Linked DNA regions of Homo sapiens: region 1 is linked to region 2. Evidence: promoter capture Hi-C in human tissues and cell types (Jung and others, 2019). All regions are on one chromosome and are shown on one strand. The core of a region is centred on a gene start or on the middle of the fragment in contact, and the rest is flanking DNA. Distances in the headings are between cores, read along the strand shown. Region 1 holds the start of DLEU7-AS1 (DLEU7 antisense RNA 1). Region 2 holds the start of DLEU7 (deleted in lymphocytic leukemia 7).

Evidence for each region. The method cuts DNA at HindIII sites, captures the fragments that hold promoters and counts their contacts. A contact is called where the count stands out against the background at its distance.
Region 1: a fragment that was not itself captured here is called in contact with the fragment with the promoter of DLEU7 in region 2 in 1 of the 25 tissues and cell types used here (H1 embryonic stem cells).

The regions. Positions count from the first base shown.
Region 1 is chr13:50,803,506-50,808,312 of GRCh38, forward strand. It overlaps DLEU7-AS1 (DLEU7 antisense RNA 1), which reads left to right and starts at 4,350. Exons shown (of 5, transcript NR_046551.1): 1 at 4,350-4,481. It also overlaps a transcript of DLEU7 not described here. The HindIII fragment of the contact is 3,253 bases long and covers 1-3,224 here.
Region 2 is chr13:50,841,308-50,846,105 of GRCh38, forward strand. DLEU7 (deleted in lymphocytic leukemia 7) reads right to left here and starts at 2,385. Exons shown (of 2, transcript NM_001306135.2): 1 at 1,881-2,385. The coding sequence starts at 2,339. All of the region lies in intron 4 of DLEU7-AS1 (DLEU7 antisense RNA 1), which reads left to right. RefSeq lists an enhancer at 1,315-2,241. The HindIII fragment of the contact is 10,732 bases long and covers 1-4,798 here.

The sequences.
Region 1 (4,807 bases), core at 348-2,847, 39 kb before region 2:
CACTTGAAATGTGGCTAGTTCCAATTGTGATGCACAGTAATTATAAAATACACACCAGATTTCTTGGAACAAAAAGGAATAGAAATATCTTATTTATAATATTTTGTATTGATTACTTATTGAAATAAAATTATTTTTGATATGACAAATTAAATAAAACATATTACTAAAATTAATTTCTTTAATTAAAGAAAAAAGGTGATGCATTTCTTTAAAAAACAGACTTCTTTTTACTTTTTACACTAACTACTAGAAAATTTAGAATTACACGTGTAGCTTACATTGTATTTCCATTGACAGTGCTAGTCTACTATGTGAGCTGCAAATTTTTTGCCCAGTTTATTTTTATATTGTCAGATTCATCAGTTTTTTGTTATGACTTCTGAGATTTGTAATGGACTTAAAGAGATCTTCCTTACTACAATACTTTTAAAACTTTTCCATGGTGGGTCCTAGTATTTTTATATTTTTATTAACGTGGAAATCTTTGATTCATCAGGAAATCATTTTGATGTAAGGTCTGAGGTTAGAATCCAATATTAATTTTTTAGAGGGCTAGAATGAACAACATTTATTAATTTCACCCTTTTCCCACTAATTGAAATGTCATCACGTCCTAAATATTTTAATGTCAGGTAGGGCTAGTACCATGTATTTTCTATTTTTTCCCCTGAATTTTCCTGGTTATTCCTGCTTGTTTTTTTCCTTTATATGAACTTTAGAATCATATATAGACTCCCAAATTTTATTGATATTCTTATAGGACCTGTATTAAATGTTTATATTTTTTTAGAGAGAATTGAAAACTGTCTGATACTGAGTTTCCCTCACCAAGAATATAATATACTTTTATATCTGTTCAAGTGTTCTTTTGTGTCCACAAGAGACAGTGTAATGTTGTTCGTTTTATGGGGTTTTTTTTTTTTCTGTTGTTGTTGTTTTTGTTTTTGAGACAGAGTCTCACTCTGTCACCCAGGCTGGAGTGTGGAGTGCAGTGGCATGATCTCAGCTCACTGCAATCTCTGCCTCCTGGGTTCAAGTGATTCTCCTGCCTCAGCCTCCTGAGTAGCTGCAACCACAGGCATGCACCACCACACCCAGCTATTTTTTAAAAATTTTTATTAGAGATGGGATTTCACCATGTTGGTCAGGCTGGTCTCGAACTCCTGACCTCAGGTGATCCGCCAGCCTAGGCCTCTCAAAGTGCTGGGATTGCAGGTAGGAGCCACCACGTCCAGCCAGTTAAAGATTTTACATAGGTTTTCACATCTGACAAATTTATTCTAAATATTTTCTAGTGATATTGCTATCAAAAATGAAGTATTTTCTTCTATTATGCCTTTTTTATTTTAATATAGGAAGGATGATGATTGTATATATTTACTTTATAACCAAAGACCTAACTGAATTCCACTATTGTTCTAATATTTTTTTTCAGTTGGCTCACTTTTTATATAATAAAATTTTTACTTTTATAATCTACAAGCAATTATTATTTGTCTTTTTCTTTTCTAATTTGTATACATTTTCTTTCTCTCTTGTAAAACTGCATTGCTTAGGATGTCTAGATCAACGTCTATGAATAGTTGTGGTAGTAGACATTCTTGTCTTGTTCCTGACATTAATATAAATATTTCTGAGTTTCCTTATAGATTATAGCACTAGCTTTTAGATTGAGATTAGTATATTGCACTAGGTTAAGGAAGTATCTATTGCCATTTATTGACAGTTTTGTTTTGTTGTTTATTTGCTTGTTTAGTAAGAATGGATGTTGGAGTTTATCAAATGTCTCTCAGCATCTAGAAACATGATTTTTAATCTATTAGTGTGGTAGAAATATATTAATAGATTTCCTAATATTGAACCATCCTTGCATTCTAGAATAAATATAATTGCTCATGGTGTGTTAGTTTTTTAATGTGTAATTGGATTTTGTTTAATAATGCTTTATATTCATAATTTTTGTGTAATAATCCTAACAGTTATTGTTTTATTATTTTGATTTTCTTCTTCAAGAACACCAATTATGCATATGTTTGATTTTTTTATATATTTTGCATCTATCATATAACCCTTTTAAATATCTTTTTTATTTATTCTTTTTACTCATTTTTTTCTAATTCCGTCTTCCACATGTCTAGCTATGCTTTCAGCAATGCCCTGTCTTCTTTGTGCAGTTTCCTACCACTTCTCATTCAGCTTTATCGCCTTTCCTTTTTCTAGAAACCTCACCACTTTGAGGCCCAGGGAAGCACTCAGTCAAGCTGACACACCCTTATTGCTAGAGAACAAATATCAGCAAACTATAGCCCATTGGCTAGCTTTCTTTTTTGGGAAGTAAAGTTTTATTGGAATATAGATATGCCCATTTGTTTATTGTACATGGTTGCTTCAGCACTACAGTGGCAGAATTTGATAGTTATGGCAGAGACCATATGGCCCAGAAATTCTAAAATATTTACTATTTGGTTGTATAAGAAGTGGTTTGCTGCCCTCTATTGTAAAAACCTCCATTTACATTTCAGTATGTATCACTTAGAATTGTGCTTTTATGACTTTCTTGAAGCTCAGAATCCACAGGCATCTTCACTCTGGTACTTCCTATGTCCTATGCCACTAAGTCTTCTCTCTCTCTCATTTAAAAATCTCTGTTGTTTCCTAGTTTTACAAAGGATAAGCTTTGCATTACTGTTTTTCTTGATTCCCTTGATGTTTTGGTTGGTTTTTCTGAGATATGAATAAGAAAATACTCACTTAGCTCTGCATGTTAAAATTGGAAGTCCTCAGATAATATTCCAAGAAATTATTTTTTATTTTCATCTTTGGTTGGTTGTTTTTTGACCATTGGATAGAGATCTTAGCATACTAAATGTCTTTATCCTGAATATATAGAGATTTTCTCTCCTTAATTTAATGATTTTATGACTTCTGCAATTCTTTTAGTGATTATTTAGTTCTCAATGAAGAACATAAACACAACTTTTTAAAAAACATGTATTAGTAAGGAAAAATTTGTTTTATATTTTCTATTGCCCTAAATTCTGACTCATATTAGACAGCTCGGAGTAATATTTAATACTTGAAACTTCACAAGTAATTACAAATAAATAAATGCTATAAATATTAAAAAATAGGAGCAATCTCAACTTTATCCTCACATTTTTCTGCTAAGACTTATTTAGTTACATATTGGGCTTATTTTAAAATTTAACCAAAATTATTTGATCTTTAATTATGTTTTTACCTAGAAATGTATATTTAAAAATAAAGTGTAATTCCAGTTGTATTTATACTATTCAGAATTTCAGAAGTCTGTAATCCCAGCTACTCGGGAGGCTGAGGCAGGAGAATTGCTTGAGCCTGGGAAGTGGAGGTTGCAATGAGCAGAGATCGCACCATTGCACTCCAGCCTGGGTGACAGAGCTAGACTCACTGCACTCTAGCCTGGGTGACAGAGCTAGACTCCCTCTCAAAAAAAAAAAAAAAAAAAAAAGTCGGTCTGCTCCTCTGCCTTTTTTTTTCCTACTTTTAAGAGTAGTCTGCCTCCGCAAACTTTAGTAAAGAAGTACTAAAATTAAGTGTGTTAAATGGTGTTAAGATATATATAAAAATTAATTTTTAAAGAGAGTTTAGATTGTTATCTTTAAATTTTTTTATACATTTCATAAAACATAAGTATTTCCTAATCATTAATAGGTTTTAATGAGCTTTAGTAGATGAGCAGAAATATCAGAGATATAAAATGATACTATACCGGCTTCCTTAAGAAGCTTTCTATTATTTCTTAGAATCCTGCTTTATTCTCTTTCTTGAATTCATACATGGCATTTAAAAATCTCTTAAAGATGGTCATCAAAAACAAACAAATTTTTTAAAAGATGGTATTTGACATCTCCCCTCCCTCCTCCTGCTTCTCTCAAGCACCAGTTTCCAGGTACCACTGCCTATAAAGCCTTTTCCAAACACAAATTTAATCTTTGAGTGTTGAGGTTTTTTTGGTGTTTTTTTTTTTAAGGTAATGTATTATCCTATGCAATGATATTGAGCTTTTGACTGAGAAATTGTGAAATCAAAAGTAAAGTATAGGAATTCCTTAATGGACATTTCAAGAACTTTGAAAGGCTATTGTAAGGGGAAGAAAGAGGGAAAATCTGTTTCAGTAGGAGACCTTCTCACCTCTTTACTCATAAGCCAGCCCGGGCATCATATGACTTCATCAGACTGCAACTTACTGTTCTCCCCTTTGTGGGGAGTGTCAAATGCTATAATAGAGTTCTCCAGTCTGAGGTCAGCGAAAGCTTCTCAAAGGAGATGATGCCTGGCTAAAGGGACTTTCTTTCTGAGAAAGGGATCAGCATGTGCAAAGATGAAGAGGCATAAGGACTGACCAGTGGGTCACGGCAATGAGACATTTACTGCTGACCTCCAAGAGAAGACTTCCATTGAATGAGAGGAAGATCTACACTACTAATGATCAAACTGTGAGTGTTTTAGCTTTGTAGACTTATCAGGAACTTGGGAGATCAAGAAGACAGGATCAAACAGCAAATGGAGCTTTATCAGAAATGAAGAAAAGCATTTCTCCACAGTCCTAAGCTAAACCCTTTCTGCTAGTCCCAGTTCTTATATGTGCATCAAGGCAAAAAAACATTAATCAGAACAGGAATGTTTGATTGCTCATTCAAATTTGAAATAAGCAGCTTCCATTCTTCTAACCTTCCCTGGTGGGGCCATAACATTATCAATCAATATCAAGTCTGGCATATCATTGGCTATCACTATCCAGTGAGTATCTGAGGCAGCTGAA
Region 2 (4,798 bases), core at 1,135-3,634:
AGCCTCAGTCCCTTTCAGTGCTGCTGGGCCTTAACCAAAGTATTCTCCTGAAATATTTTTCCCTTTAATGTCTGGAAAATAACATGTATTTTTTTTTTAAAGGCTGCCTCCTCTGAGAAGCCTTCCAGGGTCACCTTAGGTAAAACTGATTGTCAGTCTCTCTTTTTGCCAGCCTTACCTATGCCCTGTATGTGCTACTGACATCACAAGTCACTTCATATTTCATCTATTTTAAAATGCACTTTTATTCACATTTTTTAAAAATCCCTGAAATCAGCCAGATGTGGTGGTACAGGTTTGTAGTTGCAGCTACTGAGGAGGCTGAGGCAGGAGGATCACTTGAGCCCAGGGCTCGAGGCTGTAGTGTTATGATCGCACCTGTGAATGGCTACCACACTGCAGCCTTGGCAACACAGGCAGACCTTGTCTCAAAAAAAAAAAAAAAAAAATCCCTTAAATTAGCATGTAACTTATAATCAATGGTGTATCATAGTTCAATGACAGGATTAAAAAAAATTTTGGTGATACCAAAAAAAAGTACATCTTACATTGGAGAGCATTTGGTGAAATGCAGCTTCATTTTCTAACTTTCTAAAGTGAGTGTAGGAGTGCTTCTCATCTTGCCTCCCACCCCACCGCCCCCGCCACCTTTGGCAGTGTCTGGAGACATTTTTGGCTGTATCAACTTGCGGCGAGGAATATGCTGCTGGCATCTAACAGGTAGAGGCGAGAGATGCTGCTAAACATCCTCTAATACACAGGACAACCCCCGACAACAAAGAATTAGCCAGGTCAAAATGTGAATAGTACAGAGATTGAGAAACCCCTACGTAGAGAAACAATACCTATTTGGGTATATAATAGGCTTTATTATGTTTGATTTTAAATAAATCTTTTACAGTGTATAGTGCAACTTAATGTATAGCAACTTTTTCCAAACCTTGGCTTGTACAGAATAGCAACTCTTGAGACATATTCTAAGCTCTCCTCATCACCCCTCCCCAACTCCTTCTGCTAGATGCCCCAGGGAAATAAAATACAGCAATGCTCCTGGTCAAAATCTGAAAGCCAGAATGTCTCAGAGAGATTCGTGACCTTAAACCAATTAGGTTAGTTAATGGCAAGTCCAGGACTGAAACCCAGACCCCCAGATTTCCGCAATCTCACTCAGCCTGGGAGACAGCTGCTCCCTTCCCGGGCTAAATTGGCTAACACAGTTTGGTACCTTAAGAGGAAATGTGCCCTACCTATATGAGCTGGGTGACTTAGCAAGAGTTTAGCATTTAGTATTCACGCTTTAACACCCGGGACCCACCCAGCTCTCACCCCACTTTATGAGAATGTAGGTTGACTCTGTAAGACCCCTTAGCTCTGTGGGGAATTGGATTTATGCAAAAAATAATAGTGATTCATGAATGTGAAGGAACTTTAAATAAATGTAGATGATTTCATCATACAAAAGGCAGAAGGGACTTAGTAAGTGTATTTAAGGCTCTGGAGGAAGCGTTATTAATTTGGAAAGTGGGTGGGGGGAGCTGTCCTCTATCCCTACAAGCTGCACGTGTGGAAAGGGCCTTTCTAGCGCAGGAAGCTGATTTATGTGAGAGAGGAAGGAGTTCCAGGGGGAGGTTTTGGCAAGGCAGTCCCCACATCTCGGTTGTGCCAGCCAGGCGGGCCTCAGGTGGGTCTGGGGCTCCCTGCCCCTCCTGCTGAGTCCCCAGAGTGTCCCCCGCCCCCTTCCTTCTCCCACTGGGGCTGAATCACAGTGGGCAGCAGTGTTTGGGATCCTGCGATCCACCCATCGCCATCCCAGCAGCCCCACCCTTGGAGGATGGGAGGTTACCCTGCACGCCAGAGGGGATGGCGGGGGCCAGACTCACCTTCAGGTGAATGGGAAAGGACCGCTCCTGCTGGAGGGGCCCCAGCAGCGTCTGCTCCACGCTGACCAGCTCCGAAGTCGAGTCCACCACGCGGGCCAGCGCGCTGCGCATCGCCATCTGGGCCAGGGTGCAGGGCCCGCGGTCCCGGGGGAAGGGCAGCAACTCGGCGCCCCCCTCAGCGCCTCGCACTACCTCCTCCTCTGGGGAGTTCGCCCGCGCCGCGGTCCGCCGACTCCTGGTCCCCACGCCCCCGCCCCGCTCCTCGCGCCCGGGCCCCGGCCGGGCCCGCGGCGGGCCTGAGCGACGGGCTGGAGCGGTGGACACGTGGTCTGGGTCCCGCGGGTTCCCGGGGGCGACTGGACCGTCCCCCCAGCCCCACTCCTGCTGCAGCAGCTGCAAGGTCTGCAGAGCCACCATTTGGTGGCTGATGGAGGCCACTAAGGGCGCAGGGCTGGCCATCGCCTCCGCTGGCGGCCCGGCGCGCTCCGCGTGCAGGTGGAGCAGCAGCGAGGGAGGCGGGGGCGTTGGGGTCGCCAAGGTCACATTTTCTAACCCGCGGCTCCTCGGCCTCTGGGTCTCACAGCGTGTGTGGTCGGCCCCGCCCCCGGCTCTGAATCGGTGACCCGTGCTGGCCTCTGCCTTCGCCTGAAGTCCGAATCAGGCGTGTTCTGACCCAAAGCTGCCTGAAGCGCTGCTCGGTGTGCACTTGAAAATCAGCGAAATGCTGAGCGTTGCTTCTTCCCTCTCTCCAGGGCTTTGATGAGAAAACGTGCTGCTTTGTGCGGGCGCATCCATCGGCGGGGATACCCCGCCCCCACCTCCTTCGAAGGATGCCTGCCAATGACCACTGAGGTCTGGGAGGTGGGGGTGCAAAAGACCCACTCTAGGGCAAAAGTACGAAGGGCTCTAGAAAAACTTGCAAAAGGAAGACTGTGCCTTTCCCAACCCGAGGGGAATTTTCAGAAACTTGTTGAAGCAGCCTTCAAGGCCTTGCATCCCCCAAACAAAAGAAGGAGGAGTTGTGTATCTGGAAGTTCTGCTCTTCTCTGCTTTGCTGGGTGCCACTTGAGCACCGAGAGCCTGGTGGCTGAACTAGCATCAGCAAGCCTCAAGGCCCAGGCCTGGCACTGCCCAGAAAAGCCTAAATGTTTTTTTGTGACACTCCCAAAAGACTTAGGCAGCAAGGTTGAAGTTAATCCTTTTATGAGCCATGAACTTAGGGACAGCTGTACAAATAGTTGCTGTTTTTAATTAAACCCAACATGGCTACTTCCTTAACTTAGAAAAAAGCGACTAGCAATGTTATGCTTTGATAGATTGGAAACCATGGGTGTGTGATCACACTTAAGAAAATAGAAGATATTTGAGAGGAGTGGTATGGAAAACCAGTCCGGAGCAGCATTGTTCCTGCTTGCTTTCTGCAAGGAAAACCACTAGACAACCCAACAGCCCAGTAAAGCCAGGGCAATGGTGCATGCCCACGACAGACAGGTGGGCCCTGGCAGACCTGAGGATGGAATTGCATTACTCCTTTGGGAGCCAGACTGCACCCTTGGTGCTGTGCAGATCTGGAGAGGCTTTTGAGTGAAAAGGCCACACTGGTTAGTCTGTGAGCACAAAAGGATCATCAGAAGAGATATGGAGAGGGATGTTGGGTCCTTTAAGGTTTCCTTAACCCTGGGATAGTATGACCCCATATAATCCTCCCAACTTGCCAGCAAAGGTTCCTTCTCCTTCCCAGTGCTTTCTTCGCCTATGAAAACGAATCTGAATGCCAAGGTAAAGAAAACCTTTCTTAAACAAAAACGAGTATGTTCACACTAATTATAACTAAGTAAAAATGCACGTCTGTGCATTGACAGAGAGGAAATTACTTTGGAGGGAAGTAAATAGTTTAATGTTGATTAGATTTTTTTGCCATGAAGTTACTTAAGTTCATAATAAAAAATAGAAAGAAAAAAATTTTCTTTTTAAAAAAAGTCTTCAAATGTTGAAATATATTAGGTTCAGCAGAGACTAACCAGCAATAGCAAAAATGAACCCCTAATTTTCACAGAGCATGTCAGATCTCTAGGGCTGCCTCTCTTTCCAGATACACAGGAAATTCAGTTTCATGGGCTAACCCTTCCACTATCAAATGGCTGACTGCAAAACTTTCTTGACAGTTGGAATTGCAGCCAAGAGCAGAATTGAAATCACTAGACACAGGCTGACCTGAGGCCCCACTCTTCTACATACCACACTGAGTCAGAGCCATGAGACCAACTGAACCTCAGGGGGCATGACAGAAGGGTGCCAGAAAACCTTGGGGCCTGAGGGATGGCACATGCTGCTTAAATTGCTGCCTGCTTTTTCTAGTATTCTTAGGAAGCCCTGGATCATCTGGCAACTGAGTGTTTTGTCTGTTTTGGCTGTGGGTCGCACTGTGTTTTGCTATGATCTCAAAATGGCTTGTGTTCCAAAGCTAGAGATATGAGAGCCTAACTCAGGAAAAATTTTCATAGTCTATTTAGATGAGTCAATAGCATAGCAGATCTACCTTTGGTCTAAAACACCTCCGTAGTTACGTTTGCTGGGCTACCAGACGAAGTAACAGATAGCCTACTTCTTACCCACTGTACTCACGATTTGAGGCCATTCTGTAATAAAGGGCACATTCAAAAGGACAAAGTATTAGATATCTGATATGTTTGTTTCACAACATATATTTCACTATTTTATAGAAATCATACCCTCATTTCTCAGTAGATATGCCTTTTCCTCCACACTCTGCCCGTGAAGTCAGATGGGATGAGCCCATCTCACTGCAGAAGAGTACTGGATCATCTAGCCTAAGTCCCATCACACATCACATCCCCACAGTGCATGCATGGTCAGGAATGGGCACATGACCCAGCTAGAGCCAATGAGACAGTATC